Regions from separate parts of the Homo sapiens genome. Here region 2 is linked to region 1. Evidence: promoter capture Hi-C in human tissues and cell types (Jung and others, 2019). All regions are on one chromosome and are shown on one strand. The core of a region is centred on a gene start or on the middle of the fragment in contact, and the rest is flanking DNA. Distances in the headings are between cores, read along the strand shown.

What was found. Contacts are between HindIII fragments. The study calls those that stand out against the background at their distance.
Region 2: a fragment that was not itself captured here is called in contact with the fragment with the promoter of NTM in region 1 in 1 of the 25 tissues and cell types used here (mesendoderm cells).

Annotation. Positions count from the first base shown.
Region 1 is chr11:131,368,280-131,373,339 of GRCh38, reverse strand. NTM (neurotrimin) reads right to left here and starts at 2,725. Exons shown (of 9, transcript NM_001352005.2): 1 at 2,452-2,725. The coding sequence starts at 2,533. The HindIII fragment of the contact is 4,341 bases long and covers 2,321-5,060 here.
Region 2 is chr11:131,057,917-131,062,976 of GRCh38, reverse strand. No RefSeq gene overlaps it. Among named protein-coding and RNA genes, the nearest start is that of SNX19, 140 kb to the right of the region's middle. The HindIII fragment of the contact is 4,893 bases long and covers 479-5,060 here.

The DNA of each region.
Region 1 (5,060 bases), core at 1,476-3,975:
TAAAACAAAAACAGAGGAGAAGAAAAAATCGCCTTGGAATGTGTGCTGCATTCTAACTAGTCCCACTGGGTCAATGCAATAGGGGTGGATTATTGCAGGCAAGACCTGGGCTGCCTCAGTAATTCTGCAAGTTTGATAAGAGATAGCTGGCAGACTTCAGCTTCCTTCCTCTGAAAGAGAAAACAGACATCACCTTTGCCACATCTGACTGGCATGCAATATGCGGGTCTTTGGGGGTCGTTCTGCGTTAAAATTGGGCAACCTTGTTCTATTACGACCACTGAAGCCTGTTCAGGGCTGACTGGGTGAGGGTAGCACAAATAAGGCCATCATTCTTTTTGAGAAATTCCGGATTCGGTAGAATGTGATAAGGTCTGAGATAGTGCTGTCGCCACCACCCCTACCCCAAGTTAGGAACAAGACCACAAAGTCAGATGGCACCTTAGAGAAATTGGCACCACCACTTTGCTACTCATCTATTCAGAGATGATTCAAAGTATGAGCAAATATTATGCTTCCCTGCATTTATTCTGATGAAAAAAAAAATCACGTATGCTAATTTATATGTAAATTCAGTATGGCCCTGGGGCTCCTGGCATGCAGCCAGCAGGGCTGTTGATGGTGGAAGTTTGGTCATTGTCTCCAGTTTGATGTTACAGGCAGAAGAGACATGGATCTCGGGACAGATAGAAATGACTGAGGGCTTGGGACCTTCCCTCTCCCTACCTCTGACCCCTCACCCTACCCCTTGCCTGCTTAGTTTTCATTTTTGCTGTCAACCCCCACAGAAACTGCTTTTCCGAAACTGCCCGATCCTGAACTCAGCTTCCCCACTTCATTCTTGTGCACCCAGAACAAGCAGGGGTGCACACACACGCACGCACACACACACACACTGATACTGCTTCATATTATATAAGAGGAGTCAATCGAGGATGCCTCCAAGTTGATTCCCTTCACTCAAACACCCACCAAAGCCCCTAGGGGACAGCAGGGAATCCTGAGGCCCATGCCTCCTGGGGTTGGGTGCAGCAGACGACATCATGGACATCCCTGCAAGATTCACCACCTTGGACTTCCTTATCACCCGACACAGATCCCTCCTGTCCCCACCCCTTGCCTTCTTCATCGAGCCCCAGTCAAGGGTGTACACATTTGATCCTTCCAGCCTGGTCTCTCTGCCCACCTTACGTGGATCCACACTGCAGCCACTGCAACCTATGTCAAGAGGACAGCAGCAATCCCTAAATCCTAACCTCGGAGAAGAGCCAGCAGGACTACAGCTCAGGACTCAGTCCAGATCAGGAGAACTCCATATTGCAGGGGGAGAAGAGGGCGAGGGGGTGGGACTCCCCATCGTTTTTCACCGGGTCAGAGGGAACTTTCCTCTGGGAATACAACTGCATAGGACTGAGCCTCACCTCCCAAGAGAGGGCTCCTCCTCCCGGAGCCCTGCTGGGCCACCCTGGGAAAGTTTCTCAGCTTGTCTCGATCCTTACGAGTTTTAGCTGTGTTTAATATAAAAGAGGCAAACTAGTTACCCCAAAGGACAGGGCAGGTGGGAGCAAGAAGATTAGTGGATAATTCTGTTGCTGGAACGAACAGACGTGAGAGCCGGGATGGGGTGTGGGGAGGCACGGTGCAGCAAATGGACTCAAGGTGGAGGCCGATTCCAAATGCACAGAACACAGCACTGGGGACATCAAAGCTTGCACTCAACTGCAGCCCCCAGGGCTCCCGGCTCAGCCGATAAATAAACAGAAAATTAGCATTCGACTCTTATTGCCTCTCTCCCTTCAACTTCGAAAAGCTTTTTAGAATTTCAGAGCCCCGGCTCCCCTCGCTTCCACACCTCCGACCCCAGCCACAAACACACCCCCGAACACATTTAAAACTAATACAGTTGTCCCCCACTGCTGCAAATTGACTCATCCCTTGCAGCTGGATCGCTGACCAGAACCTCACAGGAAGCACCTGATTCTTTCTAGCCTGCATTTTCCCCTTTGCTCCTTTTAAAAGCTTTGCAAGTTCGCTGGCCGATATTTAAAGTTTCCTCTTGTAATTTCTTCCCAGTCGCATAAGCAACACATTAGCAACCCTGTTGCCCTCCGAATCTGTCATTTCCCCCTGCTTACATGTGTGCTCCGTTGTGTATGTGTGCAAGAATGTGCATGAAGCCAGGGAGCCTTGCACACAAGCACAGTCCTAACAGGAGCACCAAACACATTTTACTTATGCACATACATATTCCCCCATTCCGGTAGCAGCCAGAATCAAATCAATATTCTCACAGCCTAGTCGGGAGAATGAAGTCCCAGCCATGCTGTCTAAACGCTCTCTCCTCCACCTGCAAACAGCGCAGCACAGCCGACTCGGGGAGTCTGCAAATCTTATAAAGCACACTGTACAATTCCTGGGTCTACCGAAGGCAAATCAATAGCAAGCTCTTACCTTGGAAGAGACACAGAGCAGCCAGCCCCGTGAAGATTGCCCAAGAGATAGAATTGTGCATTTTTGGCTGGATGGTTTTCATGATTTTTTTTCTTCTTCTTTTTCTTCTTTTTTGTCAGGTTCGGTTTTTTTCTTTCTTTCTTTCCTGATAGATTGTGTTGCTCTCAAGCTTGTGCAAGGAGATTTAAATCCACTGTTTTGCTGAAGGACACAACAAGAAAGCCGAGGGTGTGAGAGAGTATGACTTCTCCGTAATTATCTCCACTCATACTCTGGCACTGAGACACATTGTACAATCTGGCCCTGGACAGCCCTCCTACAAGCTGCAATCATTGGTTCTAATCCAAGGATTGACAGAGCTACAACACACGCGCGCGGGCACACACACACACACACACGCACACACACTCTCAGGAATCATTTACTGGGCAAATCAGGCTAGCTGATTAAAGAGACAGGAGCCTGGAGAGATAGAATGATAAATGCCACTTTGCCCCTTCTATATTACTTTCATTTTTTAAACTGACAGTCTCTGAGTCTTCTGAGTATCAGAAAATCCCTTTCCCCCTGGCATTCCCTGGCCTCCTGAACTCAGATTCCCTTTGCACTGGAAAAATCCCATAGCCAGCCATGGCTTATGGGAAATTTTAAAGGGACATTTTCATGCTCAGTGAAACTTGTAAAGATGAGGCAATTTTCATTTGTTGGTACCTATTTTCCCCTCCAATGGAAATATCATTCAGTGACAGCTTTTTTTTCTCTCTTTCATCAACCTTTCTACTTAGTTGCTTTGAAAATAGTAAATAACTTTCTATTTTCTCCTCCTGTCACTTCTGTTTCAGAACATCTATGTTACTCCTCTTTTTCATTCACTTTTTAGAAGTCAATTTCCTAAATTCATCCATGTGTATATGATACAATGGAAAGGTACAAAGTACCTGGTATTTGAGAAGAAGCTCTATAGTCTGAAGATGGAGAACCTTCTTCAAAAGAAAACAAAGCAGGAGTTTATTCCCCATGACTTGGTCAATCCACATCCACTAAAGCAATCATAGAAGCATCTGTGATTTAAACTGCAGCGAGAAAGATTCAGGGTAGACATGCGGAGGGGCTTTCTGAGTGTAAACTTTGTGTAGTTCCTCAGACAGTTGAAGACATTAACCTCCTTGGTGATAGGAAAGAATAAAAACCGAACAGAAATAATCTAATGGACATAAATGATTTCTTAAGAGGTCTAATTCTAGGGCCTGGAAGTTTATTCTAATCTTTGGCTTCCCCTTATGAGAAGCAAGTTAGAGGATGTGAACAAAAAATCTAGAAAATGTAGCTCCTGGCTGGGCACTGTGGCTCACGCCTGTAATCCCACAACTTTGGGAGGCCAAGGAAGGCCAGTAGCCTGAGCTCAGGAATTCGAGACCAGCCTGGGCAACATGGTGAAACCCTATCTCTACTAAAAAATTCCTTAAAAATATCTGGGTTTGGTGGTGCGCACCCGTGGTTCCAGCCACTTGGGTGGCTGAGGCAGGAGAATTGCTTGAGCCTGGGAGGCGGAGATCACAGTAAGCCAAGATGGCGCCACTACAATCCAGTCTGGGTGACAGAGCCAGCCCCTGTCTCAAGAAAAAAAAAAAAAAAAAAGAAAAGAAAAAGAAAATGTAGTTTCTCACAGAACCTTCCTTAGCTAATTCTGACACATTCATACCCCTACTATGCCTTGACACACATTTTAAAAATATTCTTCTAGAACTCCACCGCTAATTATTATACTTCCTTGTAACCCCATAAAAATGTTCATGTATTTTCAAACTGCATAGAAGAAAAGTACTCATTGTCTGTTTGTATTTTAGTGTACAGAGGTGAAATGAAAACATCACTGCCATTTTGCACATGTCTAAGACGTACGATTTACCTTGGCTTTTTTCTTTTTTCTTTCTTTTTTGTTTTTGTTTTTGACAGACTCTTGCCCCGTCACCCAGGTTGGAGTGCAGTGGTGCAATCACAGCTCACCGCAACTTTGAACTCCTGGGCTCAAGGAACCCTCCTGCCTTACCCACTATGCCCAGCTATTTTTTTTTTTTTTTTAATTTTCTACAACATAGTAGAGATGAAGTCTCACTATGTTGCTCAGGCTGGTTTCAAACTCCTTGCCTCAAGCAGTCCTTCCAGCCTTGGCCTCCCACAAGTTTACCTTGTGTTGTGTATGAATAGGGACAACACTGCCTGGAATGTGGGATCTTGTGACCTTGAGAGGAAGGGGCCCTGGGACCTCAAGATCTGGGGACCTCAAGATCCTTCTCATAGTTCTGCACAACTAAGGGACCTCAGGCAGGTCCTTTCACCTCTGTGAACCTTGGCTTCTTGTCTATAAAATTGTAGAACTGGAATAATTTATTATACTCCTTCTCATTTTAAAGATGTTTTATGTTAACTGGTATTTTTTTTCTTCTTGCCATTAAGTTCTAATTCACATATCTATCAAAATGTCCTTGATATCGTGAGCTCCCAATGGACAAGAATTTTATCTGTAGATGAGTCTTTTTGTGCGGTGCTCAGCATAGTGACATGTGTAATTAAATGCTTTGGAACAACTGTGACGGCAGGTGATAACA
Region 2 (5,060 bases), core at 1,676-4,175, 310 kb after region 1:
AGGTAAGGGAGTCCATCAAATTTATTTTGTTCTGGCAACTCAAATGGCATTTTCCCTTTCTAGGCAGAGCTTTAGAACTTCCCAGACATTGCCCAATATAACTGGAACACTATTGATTATCATCAGAACACCTGGAGAGGAGGACGGGAGTAGGGAGGGGCATTTCTATAGCAGGGACTTAGTATCAAATAACATATGCTGTCTCCTGCTTGCTTCCTCAAGTTTCACCACAATAGTAAGGAGAAATGTGAATAGGAAAAATCATCCCGGGTTTGAATTCAGATCTGAATTCAAGCCTGGCTCCCGCCTTTCCCAGCCCCACAGGTCGAGGCAAGTCACTTGTGACACCCCGACCTCAGCATTTTTATACGTGCAGGGTCAGACTAGGACAAGATGTTTTCGAAAATTTCTTTCCGCTCTGTTTTTTGATGTAGAAACACTTGCAGAAGGTAAGGGAAGGAATGACTCTAAATGGAAGGGCACTGAAGACCAACGCTCGCAACGTCAGGAGAAATCAGTATTCACTTTCACTTATTTGCAGTTCCATGTGAAGAACTATCATCTTTATCTTTAGTTAAAAAAAAAAAAACCGCCATTTACCTCTAGTGAAAATGCAGACGGTTGCCTCATTTTGTAACCGCATTCCTAGAAATCTCATACTAAAATGCATTTTATGAACCAAGTAGAATTTTCCCTGTAGGAAGATTGCTAATTCGGAATTGAGTTCCATATCAAGAATGTGGCATCAAATAAATTATAGACATCACTAACAATTTAAGGGGAGAAATATAACTATAAACTTCTATAATCATTTAAAATAGTAAAGGTGTGTTCCAACTCACATAAAATGGGCATGAGTATATTGTACATGTTGATTATACCGAGAGACCCCAATGTGCTATCAAGTGTACATAGAATGCATAAAATTCTAACATTAGTGTACCATAAACAGCCTAAAACCAGCCTACTAGCTATAATAAATTTAATTAAACATTAAATGAACAGTAATTTGGTTTTCCTTCTTAGACTTCAGAAGGGCTTCTTGAGGCTAATTTGACTACCTTGGATCTCCAATAAACAACAACAAAAATCAGCTGAAGTGAATGTGTTTCTTCTCCTTTTGATAATTTCTGGTAACAATCTGGGGGATTTGGGCTACTTCAAAAACTGGAACCATCTTAAAGTAAGAGAGTAGATGCCAATACACATTTAGTAATATAATGTGTTTTGGAAGATCATGATGATAACATTTTCCCCCAAATAAACATTTTTTAAGCAAAAGCTTATCTCTGCGTCACCCTTTCTTGTCTTCTCCCTTGGTTTAAAAGTTGGACTTTGTATTGGACCAAATAAAGGCCAACCAATAAGAGAACAGTAAGTGCTAATTAAATCACTCCCTGTGACACACTGTTGACAGCTATTAGAGACCTTCACACCTTATCAGAAAGCTGGAAAATAATGACAAGTCATTAGAATAGGCTTTAAAAATAATTTTAAAACATTTCTCTCAGGCAAAAGACAGTTATAGGAATGCATATTGACAGTCCACAACTTTGATGAAAAAAAATAATTTCTTTGTTTTATACTTTACAGCTTAAAACTATTGGGTAATTTGATGATCATAGCTATCCTGTTAAACAAATATGTCAAGCACCATAATTTCTTATTTTGTGATTGAAGAAATGAGATCTTAGCTAGCTTAAGGGATTTCTTTAGGGGTATGAAGCTAGAGAAAGGTATTAAGAACTGAGGCATTATTTTAGAAGCATGGAGAGGTGGTGTCCACAGTATTTTATAAATACGAGTCCATTAATCATAAAATAATCACAATAATGAAAAGTAACTGAAGGGTACCACTTCATATAGGTGTTCTCTTCACAATATTCAGTTAATTTAAAACCACCCCTTGGCCCATGGCTGTCCACTCTCTGCAGGGACCCTTCAAGGCAGGGATAATTATCACACAAGGCAGAACACTACATTTTTTGAAAAACTGTTTCAGTGGTTAAAAAATCTTTCTTCATTTAACCTAATTTTGCTTTCTAGAATCTCAAAGGATGTGCCCAATCCTTCTTTCACACAACATTTCAAATATTCGAAGATCGCTTTCATGTTTCCCCACTCGTAAGGCATGGCTTCCAGACTTTCTGTCCTCCTTTTGGCCATTCTTTGATTTATCTACGCCACTTTTAAAACCAGGTGCCCAGAAATGACCATCAAACTTCAAGAGCTCTTTGACCAGTATATAGTGAACTGGAATTTCTATTAATATAGCTTTCTGTGTTCTGGACTGAAATTTCTATTAATATAGCTTAAGATAGCAGCAATTTTTGGCAGACACATCATGAAGTTGGCTCTTGCATCCAACTAAAATCTCTATTTTTTCCACATAATCAGCTATTGAGTCAGTTCTCTCATATCATAATTATAATAGGTTGTGACATCCGCAAATATGAGAGGCATATCTTTATGTATTCAGTGTTTCTCAACAAGAGTGCTAATGAAATTTTAGACAGGAAAATTCTTTGTTGTGTGGGACTGTCCCTCATATTGCAGGATGGAATTAAATATTAATGAACAACATCTGATTGACATTGTGACAATGGAAAATCATACTACACACCTCTAAAATGCCCTTAGAAAAGAGATTCCACCGCAGTTGAGAATCTTTATCAAATTATCCATTGAAAAGGTTGCAATTAAAGAACAAAGCCCTCTATCATGCCTGTATAGACTTCCTTTAACTTTGACATCTACTTATGTAAAACACCCTATGGATATAATTTTCATTCAGCTGCTCATCTGCCTCAACGTACAGTAATAGAGCCATATTCCTCCTTTTTATTCACAAAGACAAGATGGAAACATTGGAAATTTTCACATTCAAAAAAATAGTAGAGAAAGTTAGCATAGGCTAAACATGACAATAGTTGATTATAGTTGTGGGAGCTAGTGTCCAAAGTCGGCTTCCCAATGAGCTGTGCCACCTGCTACTCATGACCTCGTAGTCTCCTGTCATTGGATACTGGCTGGCTGTGTGACTTGCTGGAACTTATAAAATGCAGTATAAGTGATGTTCCAAAGCTAGGCCAGAAGGAGCCTTGAAGTTTCTTACTTGCTCTCTTGAAACACTATCTCTGAGAGCTCTTAACAGCCATCCAAGAAATCAGACTACCCTGAGCTGCCGTTCTGTTGAGCCCCCAATGGGTACTCCCAGCCGAGCCTAACCTTTTAGTCATGGTTAACAAGGTGCCAGTCATGAATGAGGACATCTTTTACTTTCCGGACTAGTCAAATACTGCTGAGTGACTTTACTTAACGCCACATGGAGCAAAAGAATTGCTAGGAGAAGCCTTCCCATAATCCTGACCCACAAAATTTTAAGACATAATAAAATTTGACAGAAGAGCTTGTGTTCTTTCCTCCCTAAAATTCATATTCTGCAGTAAACTCGGCATTCATTTATTCACTCATTCATCACGCATTTATTAAACTCCTATTGTGTTCCAGCACTTCGATATTGGGAATAAAATGGATGATAAATAATCCACTATCTCTCAACTCAGGGACATCACACTAGAGTGTAGGAGACTCATAAACCAATAATTACAATAAAATGTAGAGTAGCACAATGTGCACTCTAGTAGCACACTAGAGTGTAGCACAATGGAGATGAGTTGGAGCACTATGAAAGCCTAGAGAAAGACCTAAAGTTGGAGTCAAGGGATGTCAGGGGAGGTCTTTTGGAAGTTAAGGGTCATAGAAGGCAAAATAGAGTTATCCAGGCAAAAAAAAAAAATTGAATAGAAAGGATTTTTCAGGAAGAGAAAACAGCAAGTGGTGACAAAGAATTTTGAAAACACAATGCATTAGAAGTTTAGCATAGCTAAAATCCAGAGCACAAGGAAGAAATTAATAGTTATGATGGAGGTTGATATGGAAGTACAATAGAAACGGAAGCTAAAATAGTCTCCAAAATGGCCCTACCCACAGTGATCCTGGTATTCAGACAGTGGTGTGGTCCCCTCCTGCATTCTATCAAGGCTGGTCTGTATGACCAACAGCACACAGCAGAAGTGATGGCAGGTCATGTCCAAGATTAGTAAGAAACTGAAAACCCCTGCCGATAATCCTGTGAGTAAGCTACGAAGCAGATCTCCCAGTCAGTCAAGCACTCAGAGATGGCGGCCCCAGCTGACAGCTTGACTACAAGCTTACTCCCAGATGCTTAATGCTCAGAGACCATGTTTGGGCTTTAAACTGCTAAGTTGTAGGGTTATATGTTAGGCAACAATACATAAATAATAGACCATGCTGTGAAGTTTGACCATTATCTTGAAACTGAAAGAAAGTCATTAAAGGATTTTAAATGGGTGAACAACAATGTGGACACTGGAAAGTCATGCGGTCAGCCGTATGAAGGTAAAGTGAAGGAGAGAAAGGGATGTTGTAATAATCCAGTCCTGAGCAGATGAAAAACTGCACTAAAACAAGTGGAAGAAAATAAGCTGAAGAGGGAAATTTGAACTATGTTAATGAACCCAGGTTTCTGGTTTACACAGTTGGGTAAGCAGAGCACTTTGCTGAGACAGAGGACACAAGAAGGAGACAGAATCTGGAATTTGTAGGAAAGATGATGTACTTAGATTTGAACATGTTAGCATAAAGAGGCCTATGAGACTTCCAAGAGGAGATGTAAAGATACAGAAGACATACGGGTCTGGGGCTGATATAGTTTGGCTGTGTGCCCACCCACGTCTCATCTTGAACTGTAGCTCCCACAATTCCCACTTGTTGTGAGAGGGACCTGATGGGAGGTAATTGAATCGTGGGGGCAGGTCTTTCCCATGCTGTTCTCATGATAGGGAATAAGTATCACGAGATCTGATGGTTTTCAAAAGGGGAGATTCCCTGCACAAGCTTTCTTCTCTTGTCTGCCACCATGTGAGACAAGCCTTTCACCTTCCACCATGATTTTGAGGCCTTAGCAGCCATGTGGAACTGTGAGTCCATTAAACCTCTTTTTCCTTATAAATTAACCAGTCTCCAGTATGTCTTTA